Linked DNA regions of Homo sapiens: region 1 is linked to region 2. The links are contacts of gene promoters, found by promoter capture Hi-C in blood cells and fetal thymus (Javierre and others, 2016). All regions are on one chromosome and are shown on one strand. The core of a region is centred on a gene start or on the middle of the fragment in contact, and the rest is flanking DNA. Distances in the headings are between cores, read along the strand shown.

The links. Contacts are between HindIII fragments. The CHiCAGO score rates a contact against its expected background, and 5 or more counts as called.
Region 1: a contact is called between a fragment that was not itself captured here and the fragment with the promoter of PIAS1 in region 2, in 7 of 17 cell types (M0 macrophages, M2 macrophages, M1 macrophages and 4 more). The highest score is 10.0, in M0 macrophages.

What each region holds. Positions count from the first base shown.
Region 1 is chr15:67,871,507-67,875,618 of GRCh38, reverse strand. No RefSeq gene overlaps it. Among named protein-coding and RNA genes, the nearest start is that of RNU6-1, 34 kb to the right of the region's middle. The HindIII fragment of the contact is 2,004 bases long and covers 1,861-3,864 here.
Region 2 is chr15:68,050,945-68,055,564 of GRCh38, reverse strand. It overlaps PIAS1 (protein inhibitor of activated STAT 1), which reads right to left and starts at 1,250. Exons shown (of 14, transcript NM_016166.3): 1 at 1,215-1,250. The coding sequence starts at 1,238. RefSeq lists a silencer at 952-1,451. The HindIII fragment of the contact is 6,968 bases long and covers 1-4,620 here.

The DNA.
Region 1 (4,112 bases), core at 1,613-4,112, 180 kb after region 2:
AACCACTTTACTATGTTTACAGTAAATGTTTTTGTATTTTTGGAAAATATGTATTTCTTATGTTAATTTATTAAGGTATAATTTACATTCAGTAATAGCCAACCAATCTTTGACAAAGGAGCAAAGGCAATTCAATAGGAAAAGGTTAATCTTTTCAACAAATTGCTCTGGAATCACCATATGCAAAAAAAAAAAAAAAAAAAAAAAAGGATCCAGAAACAAACTTTAGACCTTTCACAAAAATTAATTCAAAATGGGTCATAGGCCTTAATATAAAATGCAGAGCTATAAAACTTCTAGAAGAAGAAAGGAGAAAGACTAGATGACTTTGGATTTGGCTATGAATTTTCAGATACAACACCAAAAGCATGATTCATGAAAGAAAAATTGATGTCAAACTTTATTAAAATTAATAACTTCTGCTCTGCACAAGACACTGTTAAGAGAATGAAAAAGTCACAGACCAGAGAAATTATTTATAAAACATGTATCTGATAAAGTACTTGTATCCAAAACATACAATGAACTCTTAAAACTCAACAAAAACAAAGAAACCAATTTTAAAATGGATCATCTGAACAGATATCTCAACAAATAAGATAAACAGATGGCAAATAAGCATTTAAAAATGTCTGGGTGGGGTTGGCTCACGTCTGTAATCTCAGCACTTTGGGAGGCCGAGGAGGATCACTTGAGCCCAGGAGTTTGAGACCCACCTGGGCAACAGAGCGAGTCCCCGTCTCTACAAAAAAGTTAAGAATTAGCTGGTGTGGTAGCAAACTCTTGTAGTCCCAGTTACTTGAGAGGCTGAGGCAGGAGGATCACTTGAGCCTGGGAGATCGAGGCTGCAGTGAGCTGTGATTGCACCAGTGCACTAACCTGGGCAACAGAGCAAGACTCTGTCAAACAGCAACAACAACAACAACAACAAAATGCTCAACATTATTTGTCATTAAGGAATTGCATATTAAAACAATGAGATATATACATCAGTATATATTTAACTTTATCGGAAATTGCCAAACCAATGTCCCATTTTGCATTTCCATCAGCAATATATAAGTGTTCTAGTTGCTCAGGATCCATCCCAGGGAAGAAAAAAGGAAAGGTAAAAAGAAAAAGAAATAAGAGCTTCAGTTGCTCTACATCCTCAGCTTGTATTGTCAAGATTTTAAAATTTGAGCATTTTGTGATGTTAATGGTATCTCATTGTGGTTTTAATATGCAATTCTCTATTGACTAATTATGTTGAGAATCTTTTTATGTGCTTATATCTTATTTGGCGAAGTAGCTTTAAATCTTTTGTTTTATATCTTATTTTTAAGTTAGTGTTTGTTTTATATCTTATTTGGTAAACAGCTCTAAATCTTTTGTTCAATTTTAAGTCAGTGTTTTTATTTATTATTGAGTTGGGAGGTTTCTGTATATATTCTGGATAGAATTTGGTATCACTGTCCAATCAAGAAATGGAAAACAGGTAAAGTTTAACATAAAGAAATAACAGGAGATTTGAGTAATGGGAAATCGACTCATAAGAGTTATAGAGAACTCTGATGAATGCAAGAATGGCAAATACAGGGAACAGCCGCTGCCAGCAGGATAGAGTGTCCAAGGAAGAACTCCAGACCCTGCTGGGGAGAGCACAGCATGGCATCCTGGGTGGTGGAGAAGACACTGAAGTGGCTCACAGTGTAATAGTGGAATCTTCCCTTTAGGGTACTAGGGGGTGTTGTCCACAGAGAAGTGCCATACCTTGAAACTTGCTGCAAATTCTTCAGGTGATGGGGTGCTGGGGGAAGCCGTTCATGGTCAGGTGCCTTGCCAGTGGCACACCACTTAGAGAAGATGCTGAGGGAAGCTTCTGTCAGCTGGGCACTGAAGGTTACCATGCACTGCCAGAACTGGGAGCTGGAGAAGCTGCCCTTTTCAGGAAAAGGGAAAGAGTAAGAGACAATTTCTTCCTCCTCCCATGCCTACTACTGGCTTAACATCATGTATCAAAGAAAAATATTTATTTAACCCACCTCCATTATCACAGAGCAGGTAAAGAAGGGTGAATTTGGAGCCAAGAAGCAATAAGTTGATGACTGTCACAAAACCCTTTATCATTTGTGTGTTTTGCAAATATTTTTTCTCAAGCTACAGTTTGTCTTTTCATTTTCTTGATGGTGCCTTTTGAAAAGCAGATGCTTTTAATTTTGATGATGCCAATTCATTCATTTTTCTTTTTTCATTCATGCTTTTTTAATCCTAAAATCTTTGCCTAACCTCAAATCATAAGATTTTCCCATGTTTTCTCCTTGAAGTTTTACAGTTTCAGCTTCCAGATTTAGGCTTATGATCCATTTCAAGTTTTGTGTGTATGCATTTTTAAAATTGGTAACATATACAATAAATTACAAAAATATGTGCATCTACTTTAATTTATAAATGGTATCAAGTTATCTCATTATGCTTCCTACCTTTGTCACTGAGGGCTGTTTTTAAGATTCATTCATGTTGCTATGTATACATCTGCTATGGTTTGAAAGTTTGTCCCCTCCAAAACTTATTTTGAAATTTAATTGCTATTGTAGCAGTATTAAGAGGTGGGACTTTTAAGAACTTGACAGCTTCCATCTCATGAGTGGGATTGGTGCTATTATAAAAGAGTGAGTTTAGGGGCTAGGCACAGTGGCTCATGCCTGTAATGCATGAGCATTACAGACAATCCAAAGTCTCAACACTCTGGGAGGCTGTGGCAGGAGAATTGCTTGAGCCCAAGAGTTCAAGTTTAGGGGCTAGGCACAGTGGCTCATGCCTATAATCTCAACACTCTGGGAGGCTGAGGTGGGAGAATTGCTTGAGCCCAAGAGTTCGAAACCAGCCTGAGGAACATTGTGAGACCCCATCTCTACAAAAAAAAAAAAAAAAAAAAAAAATTAGCTGGGTGTGGTGGTGTACACCTGTGGTCCCAGCTACTCGGGAGGCTGAGGTGGGAGGATCCCTTGAGCCTAGGAGTTCAAGACTGCAGTCAGCTATTATCATGCCACTGCACTCTAGCCTGGGTGACAGAACAAAACCTTGTCTCAAAAAAATAAAAATGAAAGATAAAGAGTGAATTTGGCCCTCTCTAACCCTCTCTTTGCTCTACTGCCATCTGATGCTTTCTGCCATCTTATGATACAGCAGCAAGAAGGCTCTTGCCAGATGCCGGCACCATGATCTTGAACTTCCCATCTCCAGAAATGTAAGAAATAAATCTTGGCTCATTGCAAATCATCCAATCTGTGGTATCTGTTACAGCAGCATAAAACAGACTAAAGCACTCTACTACATGCATCATTCACATTTCACCCATTTATTCCTCTCCAGATGGACAACTGCTTGTCTCCAATTGCCTGCTAGCAGAACTGACACAGCAGCCAATGTTCTAATCTGTATTCCCTGATGGACCTGTATGATTACTTATCCTGAGTGTATATACACCCAGGAGTAGATCTGCTGGGTCCCAGGCTGTGCATATATTTAATTTATCTAGTATATCTAATGTATCAGACTGCTCTCCAGAATGGTTGACAATCTGCATTCCCACCAGCAGCATGTGAAGGAAACTATATCTCCACTTACCTGCTAACACTTGACATTTTCCAACTTTCCAATTTTTGCCAGTCTTCTAGGTGTAAGGCTGATATTTCATTGTTGTTTAAAATTGAATTTCTTTGATTACTAATGATTTTAATTTTTAATAATTCCCTTAACTTGCCTGTTTGGGTTACCACTTTTATAAGTTTTCTCTTGATAAACTGTCCATTCTTCTATGGGATCTGCTACCTTTTCCTTGCCTTGCATTTAATTTGTTGTTCTTTTTCTAAGATGAAAGCTTGAATTATAATTTTAGAACTTTTTTCTAATATATGCATTCAATGTCATAAATATCCCTCTAAGCACTTTTACTGCATCCCTCAAATTTTGATAATTTGAGTTTTCATTTTCATTTAGTTGCAAATAGTTTTTGGTTTCTCTTGAGATTTCTTTTTCAGCCATATGTCATTTAGAAGTATGTTGTTTAGTCTCCAAGTATTTGGGGGATTTTCCAGCTATCTTTCTGTTTAATCCCATTGTAGTCTGAG
Region 2 (4,620 bases), core at 1-2,500:
ACTAAACCAAAATTATTCAAGCGGAGCCCCATTTGTCACAATCCAGTCATAAGGGTTCCACCACCCCCTCCCCCAACTGCTTGTGTAGTGGTATATCTGCTACGGTAAAGAAGCCATCATCAGGTAAAGATTGGGGTGGGAGAAAAGCGGGGAAAAGGGGGCACCCTTTCATCTAATTTCGTGAGGCGTGAGTAATTGGTACTGTTAAGAGGAACGTTCTATTTATCGGGGGTTGGAGTAGCATGAGGGGAGAATTTCGTTCAAATCAACATGGCCAGCAAGATGTCCCTACAAACAAAAGGCAATGGGGGGATATAAACACGAACCATTCACCTCCATCAGCTACAGCATCGCCATCATGGTGTGTGCAGAGACCCCCAAAGGCTCCTCTCACCCTCCACACCAGCTAAGGCAAAAGAAGGGAGAGAGGTAGCTGCATCCCCCCCTCCCAACACTGCTTCCAAAGACACACTCTTCGAGGGGGTTTCTCCCCTCGGCTGCCCGGAATCAGAGAGAAAGAGTAACGTCCCGCTCACTACCTCTCAGCCGAACCCCAACGCCGGCCCGGGGCTCGCTAAACTTTACCAGAGCTTCTCCCCCAGATCCCCACCCTATCGCCCCGGGATCGCGCTTCCCACAAGCGGGGCACCCCAGGCGCTTCCTGACAAGCGAGCAGCCGGGGAAAGCCGAGTCCGGGGCGGGGGCTACTGGGATCCACGGAGGGGCGGGGCGGCCGAAGCCAAGTTCCCGGGGGTCTGAGAAGAGCGCCTGACAGGAGCCCGGGACTGCAAAGGAGGAAGAGGAAGCGGCCACGGGGAGCTTTCCCAATCCCCCCTACGAGAGCACCCTGCCCCCAGCCCCAGCTCCCCATGGGGGGCAGGGAGGCTAACTGGAAGGTGAAAAAGCCGAGCCCATGAGACAGCTGCAGCCCCTACCTCCGGACTCCCTATCTCTTCCCCCGCCACCCCCGCCAGAGGCGCCCACAACAATAACACGCCGGGGACGACCCGTCAGCGCCCCCGAGGCACCCGGGGCCCGCGGCCCGCCGCAGGCGGGCCCCCTCTGCTGAGACCGGGCGCGCCTCTCTCCCTACAACTCCAGGCCCGGGTGGAGTCAGGCCCGAGAGGCCCCCCAGGGTCGGACCCATCCCCCCTGGCAGCAGCGGCGCCGTCTCCGCGGCCGAATATTAGAAGTGAATTCGAGCTGCGCTTTACCTTTAGTTCCGCACTGTCCGCCATCTTGCGTCTGTCAGCGCAAGCGCAGTGAACTTCGCCGGGGGCCGCCGCTAGACCCGCCCCTCTAGCCGGCCTGGCCCCGCCCCGGCCCGCCCCTCCACCTTCCCAGCCCGCCTCTAGCCTCCGCCCCGCTCAGGGCGCTCGAAGCCCCGCCCCGGGCACGTACAGCTGCGAGACAGGCACGTTCCATTTAAATAATGGCGCCAAGCGGCGAGGTTTGACAGTTACTGCCCCCTCGGTCTCCCTGCCCCCCATCCTAGCTCGGCCAGCTCCTCCCGGGAAGGGCCGGAGCGAGAGGGATGCTGGCCTGAGCCCCATCTCTCTGCGGTCCGCGGAACGCTTCTGCATAGCTTCGACGCCTACGGTCACAGAAACAATGCTGTCCCCCAACCCCCAATAAGCAAGGCTTTTTCAGCACCTGCTACCTGCGAGGCTACCAGTGGGCTAAAAATAGAAATCCATTACATTTAAGGGGCCCTTAATGAAGCATTTCTATCATTATTGGCTCAGATCCTCTTGATAACGAGGGGAGGTAGGCAAGGAAGAGATAATTCCCATGGTATAGATTCAGAAATGAAAGCTCAGAGAGGAAAAGTGACTTGCACAAACAAGTATTTTAACGAGGTGGCGTAAGACAAAATTTTGAAGGTGTTCATTAACATTTTTGTTTAAAAAAGTATTTATTTAGTGACCATCTGCTTGCCTTGTGCTAACGGCTAAATATACATTTTGAAATCAAAGTCCGTGCCCTTCTGTAGTTCTCTAATGGGGAATCAGAGAAGTGAACGAACAAAGATACAATTGCAAATGTTAGTGAGTACCAGAAAGGAGCAAAAGGTCATTGAGAGAGAGAAAGGGTTTGGGAGATGTACTTAATTCTGGGAGGGTTTTATCCACTAAATTGACATTTAAGTAGACTTGATGGAAGGATTATTTCATTCCTTTTCGTCTCTACTGAAAGCCTTCTATATACCTCCTCCCCAACCCCCACTTTTACTAATCAACTTTGCCTCATAACTCATGGAAAAAATGAAAGATATCAGAAATAAACTCCCTTATCTTCTCACCATCAAAACCACCCTTATCTGCATAGTAACATTTGGGTTGCTATGAATGAAGTGTCCCTGCGCCTAGGAAGGCCAGTCCCTTTACCAGTGACCGGATTTTTTTCACGCACATTCCTAAGGATTTTACTCTTACAATTACCTACCCTCCAGCATCGTTAGTTTTTTCCCTCTCAATTGAATTGCTCCTATCAGCATATAAATATATTGAAATTTCTCCCATCTAAAATAAACTTCCTTTGACTCCAAAATCGCCTCTAGGAACTGCCCTATTTTTCTGCTATCTTCATAAATTCTTAGAAAGGTTTTTCAAGATCTCTCCAATAGTGCTTGTTCCTACCTCTCACTTCACATTCACTTCTCAGTCTACCCTGATCGAGCTTTGGCTTCCATCATCTGTATCACTTATCAAGATTACTAATGATCTTGTTTCCAAAGGCAATTGCCAATTCTCTATCCATATCTCAATTGACCTCTCTGTAGAATCGCGAATAATTGACATGGTTCCTTTGATTTGAAACACTTTTCCCCCTGAACTTACCTACACGTCACAGATAGTCCTGTTCCCTCACTGGGCCTCCTTTTTGATATGCTGGTTTCTCCTCTTTGGCTCAATCTTTAAATGTTGGACTGCTCCAGGGCTCGGTCCTTGCATTCTTCTCTATTTTATCACCAGGTGATCTCATCTAACTGGTTGACTTGAAGTCTATATGCTCATGACTTTGAAAATGCTCTCTAGCCTAAACCTCTCCATTGTCAAGAAACAAAAGTAAAACAAATTGAGATTCAAGATCTCATTGGCATTATTGCACTCCTAGAATTGGACAAAACTTCATTCCACAAAATAGAATAAATGTTGCAATGAATCAAGCAGAGGATGTTAACTTTAGAGACAGAAAATAGACTGAAGAAGGCAGAAACAACAAAAAGCAGATTGGTTATATCAAAGTCACTTTTCTTTAAGGTGGAGACGTGGAGACAGAACAGTAGAAAGAAAACTGATTGGTTAACATTGGGTTACTTCAGGTATTCTATTTTAAGGATTAAAACAGGAAATTTCATTATCATGCCTGTTAAAGATTGAAACTTCTGTTTGGAAAATTGGCTATCTCTCTTACCATTTTTTGGAAAACCAGATAACTCAGTTTTGTTTTGGTGAACATGGGTGACACCATTTTGATTTTTAGTCTGATCTGGAGGCCTGATGCAGGAATTTGGTTGAAAACAATGGCATCCCATGATTTTTATTTAACAACCTAGGTGAAATTGTGACTAAGACTGAGGGCATTAGCACTACCCTCATTTAACATCATTCTGTGTTTCCAGTCTCAACACATCATTTATAGATTACAGTGTCCTCATGATTTTGTATTTCTGTCATTGCAGCTGAAGAGAGACCATATGACATTCAACAATTGGCTGTATGCAAATATGTAAAACTTTTTGAGAGAACATAATTGAGAATTGTGACTATCAGGAGGACAATGCCAAGAGTTCGGAGTATGCTTCTTAGCTAGGGTTGCCATAAACCAAACCAACTAAAATCAAATAGATCAAAGAATGAGCCAGATGAGAAATCTACCTGTTTTCACCAAGTAGCCTGCTAACTTTTTGAAACTGAGTCTCTACAATACCAGATTATTTATGTACAACAAGAAGTGACAGCAACAGCACAGATTTCCCCGTTTGGTTAGTACGCAGCAATTCTATCATCTAGCATCTCAGAAATGGGTTAAATTAAAGCAAAGAGTGCTAACTCTACAAAAGAGGCCACTAGTAAAATTTGAACAAACAGTTGCATTAGGGATGTTGCTAAAGTTACCCACTAGGTGGAATAAAAGCTCTCTTGGGTCCTGTAAATGTTTGGGTTTGACCCTTTATCAACTTACCCACAAAAACTACTAATTGTGAAATTTTAACTACAGCATTATCCTGCCAAGTGGAAGAGGTGGGCATAAGCAAGAAAAAATTAAGAAGGGAAGGAGTCTTATCATGGTAGCGAGTCTTATTCTGACAGTCTTGGAAAACGCTGTCCACAACATGATGTCAGCAATTTCTCATCCTGGTTTGCAGTTTAAATGTCTCTGGCTGTGGCATCAGGTGTTCTGCTAAACTCTCTATGTGGCTCCCTCATCAAGCATGGGACTTGTCCCTTGAAATTTATATCGAGTTGTTCAGCTTAGCAGTTTTTGTTCATGGTTGGAGAATTGCAGTCAGATATTGAAGGCAACAAGAACTCAGGATCCAGGCTAGTCTATAGATAGATGATAAAAACTCAAAAACAATGAACAAAGCTGCAATCTAGTAACAGGTGTACTATG